Linked DNA regions of Homo sapiens: region 1 is linked to region 2. Evidence: promoter capture Hi-C in human tissues and cell types (Jung and others, 2019). All regions are on one chromosome and are shown on one strand. The core of a region is centred on a gene start or on the middle of the fragment in contact, and the rest is flanking DNA. Distances in the headings are between cores, read along the strand shown. Region 1 overlaps GRIK4 (glutamate ionotropic receptor kainate type subunit 4). Region 2 holds the start of TBCEL (tubulin folding cofactor E like).

What was found. Contacts are between HindIII fragments. The study calls those that stand out against the background at their distance.
Region 1: a contact is called between a fragment that was not itself captured here and the fragment with the promoter of TBCEL in region 2, in 1 of the 25 tissues and cell types used here (hippocampus).

The regions. Positions count from the first base shown.
Region 1 is chr11:120,987,832-120,993,279 of GRCh38, reverse strand. It overlaps GRIK4 (glutamate ionotropic receptor kainate type subunit 4), which reads right to left. Exons shown (of 21, transcript NM_014619.5): 21 at 4,374-5,448. Among named protein-coding and RNA genes, the nearest start is that of TBCEL, 34 kb to the left of the region's middle. The HindIII fragment of the contact is 4,948 bases long and covers 945-5,448 here.
Region 2 is chr11:121,020,625-121,026,342 of GRCh38, reverse strand. TBCEL (tubulin folding cofactor E like) reads right to left here and starts at 2,241. Exons shown (of 9, transcript NM_001363644.2): 1 at 2,052-2,241. It overlaps TBCEL-TECTA (TBCEL-TECTA readthrough), which reads right to left and starts at 2,241. Exons shown (of 30, transcript NM_001378761.1): 1 at 2,052-2,241. RefSeq lists silencers at 1,988-2,257, 2,278-2,427. The HindIII fragment of the contact is 9,289 bases long and covers 1-5,718 here.

The DNA of each region.
Region 1 (5,448 bases), core at 2,169-4,668, 34 kb after region 2:
GGTAAGAAGTGTCAGGAGAAGGTTGAAAGATCAGCAGGGGCCCAATCGGGGAGACCTTTGAATCCTCTGAAAATAATGACAGCCTTAGCAAATTTGCTGTTTTATTCAAAACAAGAGATAGGCTACCTGAGTAAGACTGTTTCTGAATTCTGTACTTTATTGGTCAATCCAACCACTCAAATTTTAACAATTTCGTTGTCTGAGCTTTTTGAAAATGATTTTCTGCTTAAAATGATGAGGCTATTGATGATAAGAATGGAGTGTAAGTGAAAGCCGGCCTGCACCGCTCTTGTTCTTTCTGGCTGTGTTCTATCACACTATCGGCACGACATTTTTTCTAGTCACTTACTAATGCTAGAGGAACTTTCTTTTGCAGCTGATGGAGGTAGAGTGGCAATAGGTTTTAAGAAGTCAGCTCAGACATCTTATCACTCATCTGGGAATGGGGAAAAACACCTTTTACCTCATGCATCTACATATACATTCACCTTAGAAATAAATTACATCAAAGACCATTCAGTGAGAACTAAGCCTCCAAAAGCCAGAAGACTAAAGCCAGCAGTGTTACCTAGAAGCACAGAGAAAAGGCTGAAGCGATAATGGGAAGAGTCTTCTGTCTTTTGAAAGGGACATTAGGAGGATGGACAGGAACCTGCTATACACACGCACACACATCATACAACACACACGCTACACACACACGCTGACAGGAGCCGGAAAGTCTGTGCTAAACTGCTACACACACACCACACACTCTTACACACACACACTACACACTTACATATACACACCCACTTGGTGCACACACACTAGACCCACACTGACAGGAACCTATAGGTCTCTGCTAAGCTGCTACACACATACATCACACACACATGTACATACCCACACACCACACACACACCCCACACACACACTGAGAGGAAGCTGTAGGTCTGTGTTAAACTGCTACACACACACACACCACACCACACCACACACACACATATACATACCCACACACCACACAAATACACCCACACACACCCCACACCTCCGACCCCACAGGCACACATAGAATGACAGGAACCTGTAGGTCTACTCTAAACTGCTACACAAATACACATCCCATGCTCTCAGACATGACACACACACATATATACACCCACATACCCCCCCACACCCTACACCACACTCATACACACACCACACACACCCTGACACTCATACACTCACACACCACACACACACCACACACATATACACACCCACACACCACACACACACATATGCCACCCCACACTCACATACATGTCACACACACACAGTGGCAGGAACCTGTAGGTCTACGCTAAACTGCTACGTACTCTCATGCACACACATCACACTCACATACCATATACACACCCATACACCGTGCACGCACACACACACACTGGCAGGAACCTGTATGTCTGTGCTAAACTCCTACACATACACACCAGTTTAGTTTATATAAGAAGGGAAAAATCAGCAAAGAAAAATGACTTCAAGTCTCTCTATACTGAACTGTTTCTCATCTGATCCTCCGTAAGCGGGTTTTAAAGTTCTGTCAGCACTTGAGCTTGAGGGCACAGTCTCCTGGTAATGACAGCCTGTGCTGTCCACCTGTTTGTGACTTCTCTCCGTTGACCTTCACATTTGACCAATCTTAGTGATTTAAAATGCTTTTGTAGCCCACTCGGTGCTGTAGGATTACAGATGATGGAAATGGAAGTTACATTTTATTATTTTTAATGCAAAAGCTACTAAGAAGCGAATCAGAACAATCCAAGTAGAATACCTTTCCAGGTAGACTTCTTGTGCTATGAGTAACAGGATGGTTAAATGGACTGAAAAGGAAGACAGTTCTAAATGTTCCCGTACATCAGAAATTTGGACGTTTGGTTCTGTATTAATTTATACACTGGCTCCAGACCTTCAGTACTGTGTTCTTACTCCTTCCCCCAATTTTAAAACTCTTTGATCTTTTTTTTTTCTGAAAAGAGCTCCCAATCCACTTCAGACAGTTTCATTGCTTGTTTCAGTTAGCCTTTCTGTATTCTGTAGGGCTAGGCTGTTTGTATCTGCAGCTGATTCCACTAATACAACTTAAAGAAGCCAAGGGATGAGACATTGGTGAGAATCTCTAGTGTTGGCAGCAAACAGGAAGAAGCATCGTTTGAGAGCCAGAATTCCTCAAAAAGGGACGAACTGGGTGAAAACAAAACAACAGCTACAACAAACTATCTTTCATCAGAGGGGTGCTGAATTCATCAACATGAATTAACCATATTTCACTCCAAGGGCAATGAGCAAGATCTTATTTCCCAGACATCAAAAAAATAAATTAATTAATTAACAACCCAAACACACAAACAGTCCTGCTTCCTCCACCCAGCCTTCCTTTGCTCTTTTAACTACTTAGAATCTTGAGCTCCTCTGAATTTCTACATGGTTAATATTCCAAACCACACACTGTAGCACTTTTATTGTTATATTTTGTGTGATTTTTTTTTTCAGTTTCTTACAGGTAAAGTTAGTTTTTTCCTTCAAGCAGAGTATAGATCACTGCTTCTATGTCTCATTTCTGGCAAGATCTAATGTGGTGCTGGGTGCTAGGTAAATACCCTCTCCAGGTCACTCACCAATCTATGGAAAAGTGCCAGTGTTCCCTGACAACCAAGAGACAACACTTGATTGGTCACAAGGCATACTGAAGAATGGGCAGGATCTTCAGCTAATTTTCTACAGGAGGATCTTTTGCCCTAGATACAGATGATGGAGGGATTTGTCATCCATCATCTGTATCTAGTCTAACTTGTAAATAGGATCAAGTCCCCAGTAGGTACACCATCAGTCACAATGCACTGACATGCTTCGGTAAATCCTGGTGAGTGAAATATTTATATGCATATGCTTAGTTAACCTACAGCTATAGTATATGCTCAATTTTTTTATGACCCTTCTTGGGGCCTCAATTTTCTGCCACTTCTGGTAGAGAGCTTATTTTTTACTTCGTTGCCTTCATAGACTTCTTTCTTTCTTGATCTCAGCATTAGTTCTGCTGTTTGTTGAATGGTAACATTCGTATTTGTTTAATTCATTCTCCAGATTTGGAAATTGGTATGAAATTCATAAAACTTGAATGATAATGTTCTTACGGTAGTGGCGGAACTTCTCTTGCTTGATTGCCCTCAAATTACAAGAAGCTTGTTGACCATGTAGGCTCTAAAATTCGGAGTTTTTTTTTTTCCTTTGGAAGCCACACCCAGTAACAACTTTTTCCCCTATGGGAAAAGTCTTAGGAGAGCATGCTATCCCCAGCCTTTGAGGCAAACCTTAGGATGGGCAGGTTGTCAGTTCCTGAGGGCACTCTCTGTTTGGCCACTGTGGGGACCTGCCTGTGGGGAGAAAGTCACCATTCACCGAAAGGCAAAGGAATTACTCATGGTGCTTTAATTTCTCTTTGAGAAGGCCCCATAGGAAGCACTAGCTATAAGCAAAATCTTTATGAAAGGATTCCTTCTCTGAATTTTCCAAACAGGCCTCTTCGTTATTACCCCGAGAGAGCTGACAACTAGTCAGGCACTCAAATCTCCCTTATCATTTCCAGACTGTTTTACCTTGCTGTGAACACCCCATTGGTGGGAGGGCCACAAATGAGTCTCTCAAGCTTCTCTCAAACCACCAATCTGGTGTTGCTGAAATGCCCCAGCCCTTTTCTGGCCTTGTGTACTTGACTCCTACAACATGGGGAAGTTCCCCCTTGGATTCCAAAAGAAAATTAAGCTCCTTGGAATCCAAAACTAAGAAACTTTCACAGAGTGGCCCCAGGTGGATTGGTTATCATGATATTTCAGTCTCACCTAACCAATAAGAGAGCTGGCTGGCAAGTTCCCAGGAAGAATATTCTCATATGAGCAGTGGATTAGAGGAAGCCAAAAGATTTTCGGCCCTCTCCGTGCTCAACTTACACTCTACCTGGTTTCTGAGGTGAGATCTTGTGACGGTTGGGGCCCTGCAAAGCAATTAAAAGAAATAAAGCAAAGTATTATATTTTAATTGATGTAATCTTCAAGCTCCCAGTGGAATCTGGGGTGATATCTGACTAGAGTTACCCTAGGTATCAATAGATGACTATTCTGTGAAAGTGCATTTAGGAAGACAAAACCCTAGGAATCCTGAACTTCATTAACATATGTATCCGCTTTTGGGGATGGGGGGGTGGATTGGCTCAGGCTCCTAGGACTAAAAATTGAAAGAAGCCACCTAGACTTTTCTGGGATCTGAACAAAGAGCCAAAGCGGGTGGGGGAGTAGAGAGGGAGGTGGAGAGAAGGAGACAGAGAGGGCAGGTGGAGGGGAAGACAAAAAGTGGGTTTATGATTTTATTTGCTTTTCAAGTCTAGTACCTGGATATTAGACACACTGAACCATACTTTCTAAACCCAAACAGCTGTCATCCATCACTAACATTTCAGGATTTGTTTCTGTTTTATTGTAAATATTCCAGTTGAAGAAAGATAAACAGACAAGAAAAAACTGCTTTATACAGTATACAGAGTCAGATAGAAAATACAGAATGGAAAAGAAAGCCAACAACCAACAGATAAAAAGTGGAAACAAACCAAGGAAGAGTATTAGCTGGTTGCAAATTCACCCACTAGCTTGAGCAAGGTGAGGCCCTGGTCTCAGCAGCTAACAGAAACCGTCTAGTGCTGGCAGTCTTATCTTGATTCCACACGGAGAAAGAAACAGACTATAAATGATGCATGGGGACATTTATTTCACTAATCCATTAAAAAAAGTTTGCTATTGATCAAGATAGCCTGCTCATAAAAACGAGTTTTTTTAAAAAACCACCCTTCCCGCCCCAAATGTGATCTGACAGTAGGAACCACGTTGTCTGTGAGAAGCATAGGATGGAGCTGCAGGTTGGAGCAGAGTGGCACCATTGGGGTTTGTTGTCAGCTGGCCTTCGGGTGCCCTTCCCACCAAATCCACGTTTCTCCACGAGGATCAAGGCAAGGTTTAAAAAAAGACACAAGTGTCTTGCACAGCTTGTTGTCATTTGATGGTTAAAGAGAAAAAAGATAAAGGATTCAAATTCATGAGTGAGGTCAGGTGAGGACAAAACGAGTATCCCTCACAGGAATAATCAGGGTACCATTTGGCCCCCAGGACGGCAGCCCTAACTGATTGTCCTGGCATAAAGAGGATGCCGACCAACCCAAATGGCAAAAACATGAATTAAGCTCGTCATCTTCCAAAGATGTCTTTATTTTAGTACATTTGCAACAGCAACAAAAGTGAGGACAATTCCATTCAAGGTGGTGGCAGCGGTGGTGGAGGTGGAGGTGGTTGGTAGCGGCTGTTTGTTTCTCTCTGAATTTTCTAAGTTTACAATCAGAAATTGCATAGAATTTGTTTTCCATCAGCCAATGAGAAC
Region 2 (5,718 bases), core at 992-3,491:
GACTCTCACTTTGTTCACCAACAGTCATTAATGTTTATTATGAATTAATACTATTTTTCTAAGGACCCCACCTAAAATTTTTGTAAGGGGAATTAAGATGTTAACTGATTGAAAGTTATACTTAGGTTTATGATTAAGTTTATATACCAAAGCCGTAGACTGTAAGGCTTTTAAATATGTCTATGGCTTTGGTATATATTTTATCGTGTATTTTTCATATATTTTTCATCATGTAGCAAAAAGTATATCATAATAATTACTGCAGTAAGAAGAATTTGGGATGTTTTTAAATAGCAGAAAAGAAAATCAGTGTATCTTCACAACATTGGAACAGTAAAATAAAATTTCTTTAACTATGTTGTGATAAAGCAACTAAGTGGAACTAGGCCTCTCATATTTCTCAGACACAGCAAAGGATAAAGGAAACTAAAACACACACGCATACAAAAAATTTCATCAATCAAATGATCAGGCAACATCAAGATATTAAAGATCAAGATTATGGTCCTTCAGAAAACACAGGTCAAATATGCTACGTGGTATAAACATCTAAACCGAAGCAATCAATTGCACCTAGCTGCCCTCCTCCCTCTCCCCCGGCCAAAATAAAATAAAAAAAAAAAAAATCCATCTCCTTAGAATCATCCCTGCTCTTTAGAAGCTTACAGAATGAGGACACTGATTGACACCAAATAAATGTGCTTCAGAAACAGTGTTTTTCAAACTGCAAGTTGTGACCCACAAATCATCAATTTAGTAAATGTCAGCCAGCATTTTTTTTAATGCAAGAGGGTGGAATATAATAGAAATTAGCAGAACATATCACATATAATAAGGGTAAATACTGCTTTGTGAAAGTTTCCCTTCATACCTACGTATGTACTAGATCTGAATGTAAGACATACTTATTACTGTGGGGCATAATTTTTTTTTTTTTAAGTTTGAAAGCTACCACCCTAGAGATCTGGGTCTAATGCATCTCAGGACCCAAAGAGTGAATGTTTTCCTTAGTCCTCAGCACCTATTCATACTCTTTGCTCAAGATAGACTACTGGAAACGTAAGAGCTCCACAGCAGCATGACATGAACAAGGGACAAGCCCCAGCTCAGCCTGTATTTGGACTTGAAAGCATTACCAACTTCTCTCAACAGCCCTAGGCGTTGCCTACAAGCTCTTTGTAGCCTAGCAACCTTCACAGTAGAGCTCCTCCTTTCTCCACTGACTGTATACAGTTCAACACTTCCAACCAACTTTCCTCAACTACAACTTCTGGAATCACTGTGTCCCAAGAAAAGACTATTAAATCTCCTCTCTTCACCAATTCCCAGAATGTCTTCCTACTAGCGGACCTAGAACTCAACAGAGAAGCTCCACACAGATCCTTACTTCCCCCAAGATCCCACGACAAGGCACCCGCCTGTCAGTCCAACACCCTCGTTCTCAGTCTCCCAACCTTGGGGCAAATCTTTTCTCCCAAAAGCCCTTATTCAATTACCACATCCACATCCTTTTATCAGCCCCTGGTAAGAGCAGGCCTAATGTCCCAAGGGCCTAGACATGCCCGTCCTTCCCCCAGCAAACCTCCCTGGGGACATGTCCTCTTTTCTGGGATTCAGTAGTTCAGAGACAAGTTTCCTATTTCCCCAGCAGTCCCAGACACGTCTCCCTCTTCTAACAGCTGGGAGGCATCTACCCATCCCCCACGCTGGGGCAAGGTGAGACGCCTAGATTCTCCCAGGAACCCGGGCAGGCTCCCCAACACGCCCTCCTCCAACCCGGGACCAGTCCCCCAGCCCAGCCCAGCCCAGCCCAGCCCAAGACCCTCCCAGCTCCGCCATAGCCCAGGCCAGGCAGGCCCCATCCTCCCTCTAGCCCCAGGGCAGGTCTCCCATCCCCACAGCTGCTCGAGACAGGCCCCATGTGGCTTTCACCCTTCCCCGAGTGTCCTATCCCAGCACCCTGCAGGAGCGACCCTCCGCGCCTCGGCTCCAGAGGGGAACGCCTCGGGCCTCGAGAGCCCGGCAGAGCCAGCGGGCCCGGCTCCACTCACCCCTCAGCCCGGGAGGCGGGGGAGCTACTGCGGCGGCTCCTCTGGCTGCGCCTCTCCTCCCCCCTCCCGGCCACCGCTGTCGCCGCCGCTCAGCCTCGGGCCTGGTCCCGGCCAGCCCCGGCCCGGCGCCGCTTCACCTAGTCCCCCACTCTGGCCGCCGGAGCCCAGTGTCCTGCATTGACCCGGAAGCAGCTTTCCCGGCCCAACAACAACACGTGACCCCGCCGCACGTGTCACGTCCGCTGCGTGAATGGGAGGGGGCGCCGGAGGAGCGGGTCCTCCCCAACCGCGCTGGGGTTGCCATGGCGACGGGGATGGCTGCACTGGCTTAGGCTTTACCACAAACACCTCATCTGCTCTTTCTCGTGCCCACCCATTGAGTGGACAATCCCCAGGGGCAGAACAGGAGTACACATTGTCATATCAGAGGACAATAGGGGCTGCAGAAAAGAGCATTGGGCTGAACCTTTCCAGAAACACTTGGAATCTTGGCCTGGCTCTGTTACTGATTTGCTGTGTGACCTTGACCAAGTCTCTTCCTATCTCTGGCTTCAGTGTCCTCAACCATAAAATGAGGGAACTATACTAGATGAGCCCTCAGGGTATGGTGGCAGTCTGACCTTTCTTCTGTGCCCCCTTCACAAGTGGCATCCCGAGCTTCCAACACCAATGTAGTAACAGCAGCTTTCATTTATTGAGCACTTTCTAGGTACAGGCACTGCGCATGTGCTATTTTTAATTTTTACAGCCCTCCAAAGAGATGGTATTTATAGAATTGAAAACAAGTTCAGAGTGCTTAAGTGATCTGCCCAAGACCACCCAGTTAGTAAATGTGACCAGGGTGAGATTTGAATCCAGGTCAGGCTGGCACCAGGGTCCATGCACTTCACTTTATGCCACGCTATTGCTCCAACTCCATGCATAGTATTACTATATCTGACTGTTGAGCTGTGATTGCTTATGTACTCCTTCGTCCATTTCTTTTGCAGAAACATACATGGAATAGGCGTGGTGCTGGCTCAACCCCAAGTGAATTCAGCCTTGTATGGGAATGTCCCCTGAAGTGCTAGGAGATGAAGATGTCTTTGTGCATAAAGTGTATGTGCTTCTGTGTGGTGTGTGCCAGAAAAGACGTGGGGGATGTAATGTGCATGTGCATGTCTGCATTGGTTTCTAGAAGGGGGAAACAAAATTATTTAGGACAGACCCAATAGCACCTTACCATCATCAGTTCCTGGAGACTTATTTTTGTCATTCTGTTTTGTTTTCTCATATCCCATAGGTAGGGTTAGACAGGGTAGAGAGGAAAAAAAAAAGCCAGAAGGTCATGGGTAAAGAAACTGCTCTGAGTATAAAGGGGATGATTAGCCAAGAATTGTATCTTAGGTTGCTCAGGAAGGGGCTTTACTCCCCCTTCCACAGAGAACAGAGTGCCTTTCTTGGCAATTTAAGAATTACTGGCTTTCAGAGCACTGAGATCATTAGCATTGTGTCCGGAATTGGTGGGTTCTTGGTCTCACTGACTTCAAGAATGAAGCCGCGGACCCTCGCGGTGAATGCTACAGCTCTTAAGGTGGCGCGTCTGGAGTTTCTTCCTTCTGATGTTCGGATGCGTCCGGAGTTTCTTCCTTCTGGTGGGTTAGTGGTCTCGCTGGCTCCGGAGTGAAGCTGCAGACCTTCGCGGTGAGTGTTACAGCTCATAAAAGCAGTGTGGACCCAAAGAGTGAGCAGTACTAAGATTTATTGAAAAGAGCAAAAGAACAAAGCTTCCACAGTGTGGAAAGGGACCCGAGCGGGTTGCCACTGCTGGCTCGGGCAGCCTGCTTTTATTCTCTTATCTGGCCCCACCCGCATCCTGCTGATTGGTAGAGCCGAGTGGTCTGTTTTGACAGGGCGCTGATTGGTGCATTTACAATCCCTGAGCTAGACAAAAGGTTCTCCACCTCCCCACCAGATTAGCTAGATACAGAGTGTCCACACAAAGGTTCTCCAAGTCCCCACCAGAGTAGCTAGATACAGAGTGTCCATTGGTGCATTCACAAATCCTGAGCTAGACACAGGGTGCTGATTGGTGTGTTTGCAAACCTTGAGCTAGATACAGAGTGCCGATTGGTGTATTTACAATCCCTGAGCTAGACATAAAAGTTGTACACGTCCCTACCAGACTCAAGAGCCCAACTGGCTTCACCCAGTGGATCCCGCACCGGGGCTGCAGGTGGAGCTGCCTGCCAGTCCCGCGCCGTGCGCCCGCACTCCTCAGCCCTTGGGTGGTGGAAGTGACTGGGCGCCGTGGAGCAGGGGGCGGCGCTCATCGGGGAGGCTCGGGTCGCACGGGAGCCCATGGAGGGGGTGGGAGGCTCAGGCACGGCGGGCTGCAGGTCCCGAGCCCTGCCCCGCGGGAAGGCAGCTAAGGCCCGGTGAGAACTCGAGCGCAGCGCCGGTGGGCTGGCACTGCCGGGGGACCCAGTACACCCTCTGCAGCCGCTGGCCCGGGTGCTAAGCCCCTCATTGCCAGGGGCCGGCAGGGTCGGCCGGCTGCTCCGAGTGCGCGGCCCGCCAAGCCCACGCCCACCCGGAACTCCAGCTGGCCCGCAAGCGCCGCGTGCAGCCCCAGTTCCAGCTCGCGCCTCTCCCTCCACACCTCCCTGCAAGCTGAGGGAGCCGGCTCCGGCCTTGGCCAGCCCAGAAAGGGGCTCCCACAGTGCAGCGGTGGGCTGAAGGGCTCCTCAAGTGCCGCCAAAGTGGGAGCCCAGGCAGAGGAGGCGCCAAGAGCGAGCGAGGGCTGTGAGGACTGCCAGCACGCTGTCACCACTGCCAGCACGCTGTCACCTCTCAGCATGGCCACAGTCAAAAGTAGCCTCAGTGGTGAGGACCATGAGAAGAGCGGAGTAAAATGTACAAGGTGGATGCTGCATGGATACTCTGTTGACAGACTTACTTCTGAGCTCAGGTACCTTTGGGGACACCCAGAAACGCTTAAGAGGCTAGTTGCCCTGTGAGCAACTAGGAAAAAAGCAAGAAATATGGGTCATTACTGTTAACAAATACTATGTGCAACGTATATAAATACATATATGAGTATTGTATGTGGCTGGGTGTGGTCGATTATACACTTCTTTGTATCTCTGAGATATCCTCCAGTCATTTTTCTGCTTCTTTTCCCATCTTTCCCCTTATAGATGAAACTTCTAAAGACAAGATCAATGTCTCTACCCACCTCCCATCTTTCTCCCCAAGACAGCCAGAATTATCTTTCTAAAACTTACATCTGTAATCTCAGCACTTTGGGAGGCTAAGGCAGATGGATCAAGAGGTCAGGAGTTTGAGACCAGCCTGGACAATATGGTGAAAGCCCGTCTCTACTAAAAATGCAAAAATTAGCTGGGTGTGGTGGTGCAAGCCTGTAATCCCAGCTACTCGGGAGGCTGAGGCAGGAGAATCGCTTGAACCCAGGAGGCGGAGGTTGCAGTGAGCCGAGGTTGTGCCACTGCACTCCAGCCTGGGTGACAGAGCGAGACTCTGTATCAAAAAAACAAACAAACAAACAAACAAAAACACATATGTGATTGTGTTATTCTCTGGAACTTAAAACCCTTTCAGGATTCTCTGTGGGTCTCAAGATAACGTCTATTATTATTAATGTACTTCTCAAAATTTTTCCAGATCT